Linked DNA regions of Homo sapiens: region 1 is linked to region 2. The links are contacts of gene promoters, found by promoter capture Hi-C in human tissues and cell types (Jung and others, 2019). All regions are on one chromosome and are shown on one strand. The core of a region is centred on a gene start or on the middle of the fragment in contact, and the rest is flanking DNA. Distances in the headings are between cores, read along the strand shown. Region 1 overlaps LOC101928014 (a long non-coding RNA gene). Region 2 holds the start of BARX1 (BARX homeobox 1).

Region 1 (7,344 bases), core at 3,734-6,233, 110 kb before region 2:
TCCATATGAACTTTAAAGTAGTTTTTTCCAATTCTGTGAAGAAAGTCATTGGTACCTTGATGGGGATGGCATTGAATCTATAAATTACCTTGGGCAGTATGGCCATTTTCACAATATTGATTCTTCCTACCCATCAGCATGGAATACTCTTCCATTTGTTTGTATCCTCTTTTATTTCATTGAGCAGTGGTTTCTAGTTCTCCTTGAAGAGGTCCTTCACATCCCTTGTAAGTTGGATTCCTAGGTATTTTATTCTCTTTGAAGCAATTGTGAATGGGAGTTCATTCATGATTTGGCTCTCTGTTTGTCTGTTATTGGTGTATAAGAATGCTTGTGATTTTTGCACATTGATTTTGTATCCTGAGACTTTGCCGAAGTTGCTTATCAGCTTAAGGGGATTTTGGGCTGAGACAATGGGGTTTTCTAGATATACAATCATGTCATCTGCAAACAGGGACAATTTGACTTCCTCTTTTCCTAATTGAATACCCTTTATTTCCTTCTCCTGCCTGATTGCCCCGGCCAGAACTTCCAACACTATGTTGAACAGGAGCGGTGAGAGAGGGCATCCCTGTCTTATGCCAGCTTTCAAAGGGAGTGCTTCCAGTTTTTGTCCATTCAGTATGATATTGGCTGTGGGTTTGTCATAGATAGCTCTTATTATTTTGAGGTACATCCCATCAATACCTAATTTATTGAGAGTTTTTAGCATGAAGGGTTGTTGAATTTTGTCAAAGGCCTTTTCTGCATCTATTGAGATAATCATGTGGTTTTTGTCTTTGGTTCTGTTTATATACTGGAGTACATTTATTGATTTTCGTATGTTGAACCAGCCTTGCATCCCAGGGATGAAGCCCACTTGATCATGGTGGATAAGCTTGTTGATGTGCTGCTGGATTCAGTTTGCCAGTATTTTATTGAGGATATTTGCATCAATGTTCATCAAGGATATTGGTCTAAAATTCTCTTTTTTTGTTGTGTCTCTGCCAGGCTTTGGTATCAGGATGATGCTGGCCTCATAAAATGAGTTAGGGAGGATTCCATCTTTTTCTATTGATTGGAATAGTTTCAGAAGCCGATCCCACAGAAATACAAACTGCCATCGGAGAATACTATAAACACCTACACAAATAAACTAGAAAATCTAGAAGAAATGGATAAATTCCTCAACCCATACACCCTCCCAAGACTAAACCAGGAAGAAGTTGAATCTCTGAATAGACCAATAACACGCTCTGAAATTGAGGCAATAATTAATAGCTTACCAACCAAAAAAAATCCAGGACCAGATGGATTCACAGCCGAATTCTACCAGAGGTACAAGGAGGAGCTGGTACCATTCCTTCTGAAACTATTCCAATCAATAGAAAAAGAGGGTATTAGTTCTTCTTTAAATGTTTGGTAGAATTCAGCAGTAAAGCCATCAGGTCCTGGGCTTTTCTCTAATACGAGACTTTTTATCACATCTTCAATGTTGTTTCTTATTCTCGGTTTGTTGAGGTTTTCTATTTCTTCATGGTTCAATCTTAGTAGATTGTATGTGTCCAGGAAATTATCCATTTCTTCTAGGTTTTCCAATTTGTTGGCATATAGTTGTTTATAGTAGCCTCTAATGATTCTTTGTAATTCTGTGGTCTCAGTTGTTATGAGTTCTTTTTTGTTTCTGATTTTATTTATTTAGACTTCTTTCTCTCTTTTTTAGTCTAGCTAAAATTTTGTTGATTTTGTTTATCTTTTCAAAAAATCAACTTTTCATTTCATTGATATCCTGTATTTTTTTAACTTAGATGTTTCTTTGCGAATTATCTGTCTGGATAATTGGCCCATTACTAAGAGTAGGGTGTTAAAATCCTCTACCATTATTGTATTGCAATCCTTCTCTTCCTTTAGATCTACTAATGTTTGCTTTATATACTTGGAAGCTACAGTTAATGGGGTGCATATATAATTATAATTGTTATATTATCTTACTTAATTGACCCCTTTATCATCATATGGTGACCTTCTTAGTCCCTTTTTACAGTCTCTGATTTGTACTCTATTCAACCTAATATAACTGTAGATACTCCTCCTCTTTTTTGGTTAGCATGTGTAGCATTTTTGGTTAGTATAAAATATCTTTTCCCACTCCTTCACTTTCAGTCTATGTGTGTTTTCATATATGAGGTGAGTTTCTTGTAGGTAGCATATAGTTAGGTATTATTTCTTTATCCATTCAGCCACACTATGCCTTTTAATTGGAGAATTGAGTCTGTTGACATTCAATGTTATTATTGATTAAATGTGGACTTATTGTTGCCATTTTGTTGCTTGTTTTCTGGTTGTTTTGTAACTCCGCATCCTTTCTTCCTTTCCTACAGTCTTCCTTCGTGGTTAAGTGATATTCTTTGGCATTATGTTTTAATTCTTTTTTTATTTTTAGTGAATCTATTATAGGTTTTTGCGTTATGGTTACCATGAAGCTTACAAAAAATCATAGATATATAACAAATTATTTTGAAGAGATGACAACTGCTGTGCACAGTGGTTCATGCCTGTAATCTCAATACTTTGGAAGTCTGAGGTGGGAGGATTGTTTAAGTCCAGAAGTTTGAGACCAGTCTGGGCAACACAGTGAGACCCTGTCTCTACAAAAAATGTTTTTTAAAAAATTAGCCAGGCATGGTGATGTGTGCCTGTAATCCAGCTACTTGGGAGGTTGAAGTAGGAGGATCACTTGAGCCCTGGAATTTAAAGCTGCAGTGAGTCATGATCATACCACTGCACTGCAGCCTGGGGGCCAGAATAAGACCCTGTCGAGAGAGAGAGAGAGAGAGAGAGAGAGAGAGAACACAGAGAAGAATAGAAACAAATAAAACATTTTTTAAAACTCTACAAATTAACTCCATTCTCTCAACGTTTTGACTTTATGTTGTCTCAATTTACATATGACGCCTATCTCTTAACAGGTTTCTATAGCTATTGTTGTTTTTGATAGATTTGTCTTTTGGGCTTTATACTAGAGTTAAGAGTGGATTGCACACCACAATTAGAGTATTAGAGTATTCTGGGTTTGTCTGTATACTTAGTTTTACAAGTGAGTTTTATACATCGAAATGTTTTCATTCTGTTCGTTAGTGTTTTTCTTCTTTCAAATTGAAGAACTCTCATTAGCATTTCTTGGAAGATGGATCTGATGGTGGTGAATTCTGTTTTTGTTTGTCTGAGGACGACTTTATCTTTCCTTCATACTTGAAGGACAGCTTTGCTAGATATAGTATTATTAGCTGACAGTTATTTTTTTTCTTTCAGCACTTTGAAAATGTTATACCACTCCCTCCTGGCCTATATGGTTCCTATTGAGAAATCTGTTGCCAGACAAATTGGGTTTTCTTTGTATGTTATTTGCTTATTTTCTCTTGTTACTTTTTGGATCCTCTCTTTGTCCTTGACCTTTGAGGGTTTGATTATGCATTGGAGTAGTTTTATTTGGGTCTTGCTCTGTCACCCAGGTTGCAGTGCAGTGGCATGATCATGGCTCACTCTATCCTTGACTTTGCAGGCTTAAGCAATCCTTCTACCTTAGACTTCTGAGCAGCTGGAATCACAGGTATGTGTCACCACATTCAGCTAATTTTTAAAAATTTTTTGTAGAGACAAGTCTCACCATGTTGCCCAGGCTGGTCTCAAATTCCTGGGTTCAAGTGATCTTCCCACTTTGGTCTCCCAAAGTGCTGAGATTATAGGGGTGAGCCACTGTACCTGGCCTATTTTGAATTTTTGATCAGAGAGTTCACATATTGCCATCTCATTAGGGTCAGTTTCTGATTTCTTGCTTTGTAAATCTAGAGAAATCATGGGTCCCTGTTTGCTGTTGTTTCTTGTTGATGTATGCCTATATCTTTGCATTGAAGGCTTAGTTATTTGTCCCAGTCTAATCAGCCTCGTTTTGTTGTTTATTGGATATGTTTCCTCAGAGATTCTTTGTAGTTTACCCATTGATTTTCTTTCTTTTTTTTTCTGCTAGGTTTCTGCCTCCTTCTTTGTACTAGATGGTGCCTTAAGCCCAGGTTTGCCTCAGTTCTAATAGACAATTAGTGTCACTGGTCTTAAATAGGGGAGGTCTCAAAGGGGATGACTCAGTAGTGTGGCACTGCTGGCTATAGGCTCATGCCCAGGGGACCTGTGGGATGAACCTCCTACAGCATGGTGCTGGTGAACAGCCACTGTGATTTGGTGTCTCCTTTGATCAAGTTACAGGGTTAAGTTTCCAAGGCTGGGGCTAGTAGTCTAGCCTCCCTCTTTTGTCTCTGGCTATCCTCAGTGATCTTTCTTCTTTCAGGCACTCCTGATACTTCCCATGGTTGAAACAGAAATGGGTCTCCTGCCAGTGAACCCAAGAGGATGAGGAAGTTGGTTTACCACCTTGATCTTATTTTTTCCAGTATTTTTCCAACTGTGAGTTGGGGAAAATTTTCTATGGCTAGGTGCTGGATGGATTGTGGGGAGGGACATTGTGGATATGAAAATCCAATTTTCTTACTATCTGCTCAGAGTTTGTTCACTTCTCTGTGGCCCAGGGAACCACATATATTCTCCTGATATTTGAGTTCTGGGATATTGCTGGTGATAATGTCCATGCTGTCTATTTGTTTTTAGTTTTCTGTGGGAGGAGGTGAAGCCAGCTTACTTCTACACCATGATTTTGGAACCAGAAGTACTCCAAATCTCTATATTTTCTGAGTCATTTCTTTGGTTGTTGGTCTAGGGCTTCCATAGAGTCTCAATTTATCAGAATCTACTTAGAGTTCTTCTAATTTAATTTCAGTGAACTATAGAAATGTTACTTCTAGAAAACTCTATGTCCTCTTTTCCTTTTTGTGCTACTATTGTTATACATATTACATCAGAATATGTCAAAAACCTACCAATACACTGTTATAATTGCTACTTTATATATGGACACTTCTGTATAGAGAGCAAGTAAATATTTTTTAGCTTATTATATTTGCCTTCTTATTTATCATTTCTTGTTCTCTTTATTGGTTCCTGTGGTTTTGAGTTACCATCTGGGATCATTTCCTTACTCCAGTACCTACCCACTCCTTTGTGCTGTTATTGTCAAACATGTCACATGTATAGGCCTAACAATACCTATATGTTAGTGTCATACATATGTATACATGTATATACATATGTATACATATATACATTCTGTTTCATACAATTGCTTTTAAAATCAGGTAAGAGAAGAAAGAAGAAAATATGCATTTGTTTATTTATTAATAATTGCATAACTACCTTTAACAGGGCTCTTTTTTTAATGTGGGTTCAAATTTTCATCTGGGTTTACTTGCTTTGAGCCTGACTGATTTCCTTTAATATTTCTTATAAGGTGAACCTGACAGCAGTAAATTATCTCAAGTTTTGTTTATCTGGGAATGGTTGTATTTTACCTTCATTTTTGAAAGATACATTTACTGAATATAAGACTCATGGTTAATATTTTTCTTTGAGCACTTTAAGTGTGTCATACTACTAAGCAGTCAGCTGTTCATCTTATTGGGGTTCCCTTGCATGTAATTTTTTCTTGTTGCTGTCAAGATTTTATCTTTGGTTTTGGCTTTCAGCATTTTTATTATGTGTTTGGGTGTGGCTGTCTTTGTATTCATCCTAATCAGACTTTGCTGAGCTTCATGGATATGCAGATTAATGTTTTTCAGCAATTGGAAGTTTTCAGCTACAATTTTTTTTTTTTTTTGAGACAGTCTCGCTCTGTCATCCAGGCTGGCGTGCAGTGGTGTGATCTCATCTCACTGCAACCTCTGCCTCCTGGGGTCAAGCGAGTCTCCTGCCTCAGCCTCCTGAGTAGCTGGGATTACAGGTGCCCACCATCATGCCTGGCTAATTTTTGTTTTTGTTTTTGTTTTTTTAGTAGAGATGAGGTTTCACCATGTTGGCCAGGCTGGTCTCGAACTCCTGACCTCAGGTGATCTGTCTGCCTTGGCCTCCCAACGTGCTGGGATTACAGACATGAGCCACCATGCCTGGCCTCAGCCATTATTTCATCTAATATTATTTCTGTTCATTTCTTCTCTCCTCCCAGTATTTCTGTTACATGTGTGTTTGTGTGTCTAAAGGTGTCCCACATTACTCTGAGGCTCTGCTCATTTTTTTCAGTCTATTTTTACTCTGTTCTTCAGATTGCATGGTCTCTATTGATCTATTTTTAAGTTCACTGTGTATTTCTTTTGCTGGTTAAAATCTACTGTTGAGCCCCTCTAATGAATTTTTCATTTTATTTATTACACTTTTAAACCACAGAACTTTTGTTTTTTTATAGTTCCTATCTCTATTAATATTCTCCATTTGATGAAACATGATCTTCCTATCTTTTATAATTTCTTTAAGCATGGCTTCCTTTAGTTTTCCAAACATATTCATAACGCATACTTTGAAGACTTTGTCTATTAAGTATAACATCTGGAGTTTCTCACAGGCAGTTTCTGTTGCCTACATTTTTCCTGTGTATGGGTCCATGTTCCTGTTTTTTTGCATGTCTTATAATATTTTGTTGGAAATGAGGACATTTCTGGTAATATAGCAACTTTGGAGACTGATTGCCCTTCTCCCTCTCTGAAGCTTAATTTTGTTTGCTTATGTGTTTTATGACTTGGCTAGACTATCTTAGTGAAGTCCATTTCACACAGAATGAAGTCTTTGGTGTTGCTCGTCAAAAGGCACAGCCTGGGGCATGCACACAGTTACCTTGGGATGAGGGTGGTTTTAGCACACTCTCTTTGTCTCTTTTCTGATCTCTCTGTTAAGCTGTCTGTTTCATTTGGTATTACTCTCCATCCTTTAGACTCCACAAATTACCAACTGATTGCTTTATGTCTTTTTTGACAATGCCCTGAAACATTAATTTCTGAGCAGCCCAATCCAATCAAATTTGGAGAGGGCTAGATTGTGAGCTCAGTCTTTAAGGTTTATTCTGTACCCAGTGGAAGTCTTCTTAGCTATCTCTTTCCCAGATTCTCCCTGGTGACCTAGATGGCCTATGGTTTAGCTTGTTCCTCCTAATTAAGAGCAACTATTGATTTTGAGAGCATCCTTAGGCTTAAACTTCTCCAGTCTCTTTCAAATAATGTCAGGTCCTTTGTGGAGAGCTTTTTCTATGTGCCGCCTCTCCCCTGGCACAGTCTCTGAGCCCTGAATGGGCCATGGCCTCTGTCTTCATTGCTTGCCTGTTTTGGTGTAAACACTCTGCCTTCAGCTGAGGCAACGGTGGTTAGGGTGCCAGTATCCTTGGCCTGATGTGCTAGGGTAGAGCTTCTGTCCTATCGGTAGAGGAAGGAAGCTCCG
Region 2 (6,352 bases), core at 3,474-5,973:
TTGTTTGTTCCTGAATCTCTTTTGTTGTTGTTGTTGTTGTTATTGTTGTACCTAAATCTCTTTTCCTGTTTGAGTCTGGAAGGACCTGGCTTCAGGAACTCTGAATGGCCAAGTTTCATAGTCTTCCTGAGCTTTAACCAGTAAAGTGGTCATCGCTCCATCCCCACCTCTGGTCATCCTCCCCACCCCCAGCTTCAGGAAGCACAAGGACAGGAACCCACAGGCAGCCCTGAGCCCAGCCTAGACTGCGGGAAGGCAACTGAGACCTCCATGAGAAGGGGGCACCTGAGAGCACATGCAACCAAGCTGTGTCCCTGCAAGGGACCACCCTCCCTAGGCCGGTGTCAGCTGAGTCCTCTCTCTCCGTCGGCCAGGTGCCCTCACTGCCCAGAGGTGGAACTCAGCAGCCCAGGCGCCGCCGCCCTGAGTATCCTGCGGAAAATGTGAGAACTCTGGGGAGCCATTGCTGCTGCAAGGACCCGCGGGCGGGCTACCGCGCTGGTGGGGGGGCTCTGTCCAAACCTTGCGTCCTCGACTTCCCATCCGCCTCATAAAGGGTTGGTGAAGACCATCTCAAGGACCGCACGAACTGGTCCTTCAAGTCCCAGGAAACCGAAACAACAACCGAGGCGGCTCTCTGTCCGGGCCACTTCCGGAGCGAGCTCTGCGGCGGACCTCTGGCTCCCGCTCCTTTGGGCACCCGCGGTGCGGCCAGACCGCTCCTGCCAGCGACTCTCTGGCTGGCAAGGGAGAGGAGGTGGAGTTCAGACTGGCCCCTCACGCCCAGAGTGGAAGCGATTCCTAGGATCCTGCAGCCACCGAGCCGCCCGCCGTGCCTAGCCCGGGCTTGATGGTGAAGAGCACAGCTGCCTTCGACAGAGCCGGAGGAAAGGAAGTTTAAGAAGCAACTGCCCGCGTTCCGCTTATCTTGCCGAGCCCACCCCCACCCCCACCCTCACCCCCTGCGGATTCAGAAGCTGCTCCACCGAGCCCGATTGTGTCATAAAATATTTTATTGGAAAAAAAGTCACCGTCTTCGCAAGAGGGGGTAGGGGCCCCAGCGACATCGGGGACCCGGCCTCCAGGCCGAGCCGACGGGTTGCCCCGGGGCAATCTCAGGCCGTTGTGGCCTGAGCCCAACCGCTGGGTCCCCGACGTCCAGAAGCGGGTGTGTGCCTGGAGGCTCCCCGGCCGGGAGGGCAGGCCCCAGACGGGGTGGGGGTGCAGGCGAGGAGCGGGGCGTGAATACGCGTGGAGCGCTCTGCGCCACGGAGCTCAGGGTAGAGACTGTAGCTTCCGCCGGGCTGGATGCGAGTCTCCCAGGTTAGAGCCCAGAAGCGCGCTGGGACCTGGGTCTGGCTTTTGGGTCTGTGTCCTTCCTCGTTTGGCCCCAATTGTCCGCATTCAAGATCATAATAAAAAGGCTTAGGAAGTAAACTTCTTGGACGCGGAAGGGCCGGCTCGCGGGTTTCCGCCGAGTGAGGGGGCTGCGGGTGGCGCGGGCATCCCAGGCCCCGCACCGTATACCGCCCTCAGTCCTCGCGGCTCCTGTCGCTGGGCTCGCCCGGCACCTCCGCCGGTTTCTCTGCATCCTTGGCGCGCTCCTGCTCAGTAAGCTGCTCGCTCGTTGGAATTGAGTTCTTCTTGGGCCGCCCCTTGGGCTTGGTGGGAGACTCCAGGCCGCCGCCCTGCAGCACCTGCACGGGGGACCGCCAGCACCTGGGTGAGCCAGCACGTGGACTGGGGACCCCCGAGGAGACTTGAACCCAGGTAGGACTAAGGAGTGCAGGGTCCATATGAGGAAATGGTGGGGAAATGTCCCGGGAAATGGCGGCCATTTGTCCAAATGCCGCCTGGGGAGCGGCCCGGCCTGGGGAGCATAAGACTGCCAGGAGGCCTGAAGGTGCCGCGGGAAAGGACGAAATGTTGGCTTACCCAAGGGGCAGAAAAAACTGAGAGGATTCCGGTGCGTACCAGGCACCGAGGGAATCGGGGGGTTGGGCAGAGTCTCAGTGGGGAGAAAGAGGAGAGCAGCTCTGCATGCACCGGGGCATGGCCCAGGAAGCTGAGGGGTGGGAAGCCACCAGGCACACTCACTATTTTCTTCCACTTCATCCTCCGATTCTGGTACCACGTCTTCACCTGCAACTGGCTCAGGCCCAGGGACTCAGCAAGATCTATTCTGGAAAGAGCAGGGCGCACCCTCAGCAAGGCAAGTGACCACACTCCCACAGCCCGCTGGCCCCAGCCTTGTACCGCCCTACCTGTCCGGCGTGGAAAGGTACTTCTGCTTCTCGAAGCGTTTCTCCAGGCCCATCAGCTGCAGCTCGGTGAACACAGTGCGGCTCCGACGCCCCTTCTTGGCTTTGGTGCCTGGCTCCCCAGGGCCTGCCGCCTCCAGCTTCCCGCGGAGCTGCAACTCGAGCGGCAGGTGTGGCGCACCCGCGGCGCCGGGCAGCCCGGGCCCTGCCGCCAGCAACGCAGAGCTCAGCCCTGAACAGCCCAGCGGCGCCAGTGGGAACTTGAACACCGCCGCCTGCTCGGCCTTCAGCACGGCTGCGAAGAAAGAGAATGAGGACCCGGGTGAGCTACGGCCGCGCTCCTCTGCCCCAGGGACTGCCGCACCACGTGCCGCGGGGGTGCTCGCGCTTGGCCAGTGCCTCCCAGCGCAAAACCTCCACGCCCTGCCGGTCGGCGCCGGTGGCGCAGATGGAGACCCTCCTCAACGTTGCCGTTCCCCAGATTTGGGAGGGAGTATCTCCTCGACCCTGTCCGTGTTCTGTCCTGGAGTTCCCCAGGCCTCAGCTGCCTCTGAGATCTCGGGGTTCCTGATGAACATGTTTGCAGCTGCGAGAAACTCGGAGTGTGTCTTGTCTTTCGGGGAAAGTAGAAACCAAAAAGAAAACGGCAGCTGGTCCTAAGAAGATGGCGTTTGCTCCAACCAAATCAGCCTTGCTGCGTTAGAAAAAGAACATGCACGGAGCGTGCACATTTGCTCTTCCGTGCGTGGCACAACAGCCATGCGGTGGCCAGGAGTCATCTGGGCCGGAGTTGGGTGCTTCCCGGAAATTCCAAAGTACCCTGAGAACCTGGAAATTATTGTTCACGTTTTCTATTTTCAGACGCTTCCCCATGCAGATGTTTCCATTTTCTTCAGTCCTAAAATGATTGTGTGCCCGCTTCAAACGAATTAGTAGCAACAGAGCAGATGGAGACGAAAGGTAGCCGAATGGCCGAGTCCCAGCTGGACTTAGAAGGAGCGCGCTGGCCCTGCCGTCTCCAGGCTAGGGAGCACCGACTAGGAGGTGGGGGGGTGCAGGGAAGGCGACTTGAAGGGCTGGGGTCCCGGCTACAGCGTAGGAGCCTCCCTTCCCCGACAGGCCTGTCACTGAGGTGCGAGTCCTAGCCTGGCTGGAGTCGGAAAGGGCAGGGCAAGGCGCAGGTAAATGTGGGGCAGAGGACCCGTAGGGAAAAGGTGGGAGATGGGAGGCAGGCCGACCCCAATGAGAGAAGCGAGGGAGGCCGACCGGCAGACGGTTGGAAAGCGAGATAGGGAAAGACAAGACGAGGGTGGAGTGCGATGGAGACAGCACCATCAGGGCAGAGCAGGCCCCGCCAAATTAGAAGAAAGGGCAGAAGCTGAAAAGGTCTGCGCAGGCCGTTCAAGCCCTGCAGAGGCCCAGCCGACCTGAAACCAGAAGGGACAGCCAGGCAGCTGCTCACAGTCAGGCCTCTGGCCCCAAGGCAAGGCCGAAGCAGGTCCGCACTGCGGCCAAGGCCGCGTTCCTCGCCCGCTGGAGCTCCCGGGGACTCCGGGCCGGCTTGGGCCCGCGTCAGCACCCAGCCCTCGGGAGCGCAGGCCTCCTCCCCAGAGGTCCGACTTCCCTGGGTTGGGCAGCCGCGGCCACTCCCGGCCATCCCTCTGCGGCGAAGCCCAGGCGCCCGTGGCCTGAGGTCGCTTCCACCCACGAGAGTCCGTAGCCTGGCAGTGCGCCTGCACTGGGGATGCTCACTCGGGGTCCCCGGGCTGGAGGCCGAAGGGAAGCAGTGAAGGAAAGAGCGAACACCCTCCCCGGGCGGCCCGCGGGCACGAGGCCTGGTTTCTGTGAGGCCTGGAGCTTGCACCCTCCGCCTCCCGCCTGGAGGGCTCCGAGAGACGGTCCCAGAACCTGCGCTCCCAGAGCAGCTTCCCGGGGCTGCTTCGATGCCGGAGGAGGCTCGGGGCGCCCCCGCGGTTCAGCTCGCTGTCTCCCGCCAAGCCCGGCCCGCGACCCCGCGGCCGCCACACGTACCCAGGTGGCTGTGGAAGGGCCGCGCCGCCAGCAGCGCCTGCACGCCGAACTTCAGCAGCTCGCCCGCCGCGGCAGCGGCGGCTGCGGGCGCGGCGCCCTTGGGCCCGGGTGGCTCCGTGAGGATCTCCTCAATCATGAAGCTGCGATAGCGGTGCGGCCGGTGGTCCGCGCAGCCCTCGGGCGGGCCGAAGCGCGCGGCGCCCGGCTCCCCCGGCCGCTGCATCGCGGCGCCCACTGCTGCGCCCGCGGTTTGGCGGCGGCGGCGGCGACGGCTTGGCTCCGGCGCGGGGCCCGCGCGGGGCTCTAGGCCGGCCCGCAGCTCGGGGCGGCGCGCGGGCGCCGGCTCATGCCCCCTCCCCCGCCGGCCGGCCGGGCGGAGGCGCAGGGCGCGGGCGGGGCGCGCGGGGCTCGGCCGGTCGAACCCGGGACTGCGCCCCCTCCCCACGCCGCCGCGCCTCTTGCCCGGCCAGCCCCGCGTCACCGCCCCGCCCCGCCCCGCCCCGCGCCGCCGCCCCCAACCCCTAGGCTGAGCCGGAGGGAGGGACCCAGAAGGGAGGGAGGCGGAAGGGAGGCCAAAAAGGAGGGGGCCACGTGAAAGAGGCCGGCCGACCGAGACCGAGGGAGACTGAGCGGAGCGCACGCCCTGGAAGGAGAGAGCCGGAGAGTTCGGGAGGCAAGACCCCCAGAGACGAGAGTCGGAGGGATCAAACGACACAGGTGAGAGAAGGGGCAGAGGCAGACGGCGTGGGCCAAACAAGATTCCAGACAGTGATGTGAGGGCACCAGAGACGCCACCGAGATGTGCGCAGAGAGACCAAAAGAGGCGTGAGAGCCAGCGGGCTGTGACGTGACGGAGGGCACAGAGGCAGGCGGGGCAGAGGAAGGGGGCGGTAAAGAAATGGGAACAGCTAGAAAACCGGCGGCTTGATCGGCTTTTAGGTAGCCCCGGAAAGGTCGGGAGGAGGAGGGGCAAAGGCCGCGCTCCTCAGCTGGGAAGGAGGTGGTCTCAAGCAGCCTCCAGTCCCGGGCTCAACACCGCCAACCCGGCAAGGGTGAGGCAGCGTTCAGGGATGCAAGGGGCAGAGCGGTAGCGGCACCTGTGCACCCCTCCCACCTCTGCCTCAGTTTACCATGTACGGCCTCATTTCTCTCCGGGCTGCCCTGAGAGAAAAATGTTCTCCAGCCGAGATTTGCTTGAATTGGAAATTCAAGTGATCCATGGACACATCCTCCTTGACAGCCCCCAGAAGACTGTAGGCTGGTTACATCCCCCTAGTTAGAAAAGGAAAAGGATTCGAGGAGAAGGGAAGGATGCAGCTTTGCCTTTTCCCAGCTTTGGGGCATCAAGAAACTGTTACTGGGCGGAGTTGGGGCCAGGGGGCCAGTGGGTGCTCTGAGAGTGTAAAGACCAAACTCTGGTGGGACCTGGCTCCATTGCGGAGCCTCAAAAGCTCCAACATGGTGGAGGAAGTTGGCAGTACCTTCTCTAGATCTTTCTTTCCATCCTTAGAAGAGTATAAGCCCAAGCCGTGGAGTGAACAACCCCAAAGCTACCCTACGCTGAACTCCTCTCTTTGGTCCTGCCACTACTGGTGAAACCACTGACCCTTTCTGGGCCTGTTTCCTTACCTGTCCTGAGGAGATGCTGACCTTTGGCTCCAGAGAGACTGTGAGAACTCAGTGAGGGGGTCCTGCACTCCGAGGGTCCTGCACCCTGGGAGCCCTTAGGTCTGTTTGGAGAGAAAACAGTTCCTCCAGGCAAGAGGGGAGAAGTGTCCCCAGGAGGTTGGGGGAGGAGCATCTGCCCTCCTCCTTCTCAGGAATCACAGGGCCTACCTCCTAGCCCCATCCACCATTGCCAGTCAGCGCCTGATGCACTGGGGGTGTCCTGGGCCACCCGGACTTCCTCTGTGAGCTCCATGTGGGGCCTCAGTCTTTACCTCAGGTAACTAGGGCTTACCACACCTACAGCCATGCCCCCCACCCAAGTTGAAGTCCTTTCTCCAGCTCCAGCTGCTGGTGGGGAGGCCTTCAGGCTGGCCCTCAGTCCCTGGCACCTG

What was found. The method cuts DNA at HindIII sites, captures the fragments that hold promoters and counts their contacts. A contact is called where the count stands out against the background at its distance.
Region 1: a fragment that was not itself captured here is called in contact with the fragment with the promoter of BARX1 in region 2 in 2 of the 25 tissues and cell types used here (dorsolateral prefrontal cortex and lymphoblastoid cells).

What each region holds. Positions count from the first base shown.
Region 1 is chr9:93,840,846-93,848,189 of GRCh38, forward strand. It overlaps LOC101928014 (a long non-coding RNA gene), which reads left to right. Exons shown (of 4, transcript NR_188449.1): 2 at 4,322-4,437. Among named protein-coding and RNA genes, the nearest start is that of MIR4291, 25 kb to the left of the region's middle. The HindIII fragment of the contact is 6,628 bases long and covers 1,670-7,344 here.
Region 2 is chr9:93,950,632-93,956,983 of GRCh38, forward strand. It overlaps BARX1 (BARX homeobox 1), which reads right to left and starts at 4,724. Exons shown (of 4, transcript NM_021570.4): 1 at 4,293-4,724; 2 at 2,265-2,556; 3 at 2,098-2,182; 4 at 996-1,697. The coding sequence starts at 4,515. The coding sequence ends at 1,533. It overlaps BARX1-DT (BARX1 divergent transcript), which reads left to right and starts at 5,203. Exons shown (of 2, transcript NR_144455.1): 1 at 5,203-6,237. LOC124902216 (a long non-coding RNA gene) reads left to right here and starts at 4,895. Exons shown (of 3, transcript XR_007061672.1): 1 at 4,895-5,009. RefSeq lists enhancers at 2,178-2,742, 2,743-3,306, 4,718-5,249, 5,250-5,780. The HindIII fragment of the contact is 32,678 bases long and covers 1-6,352 here.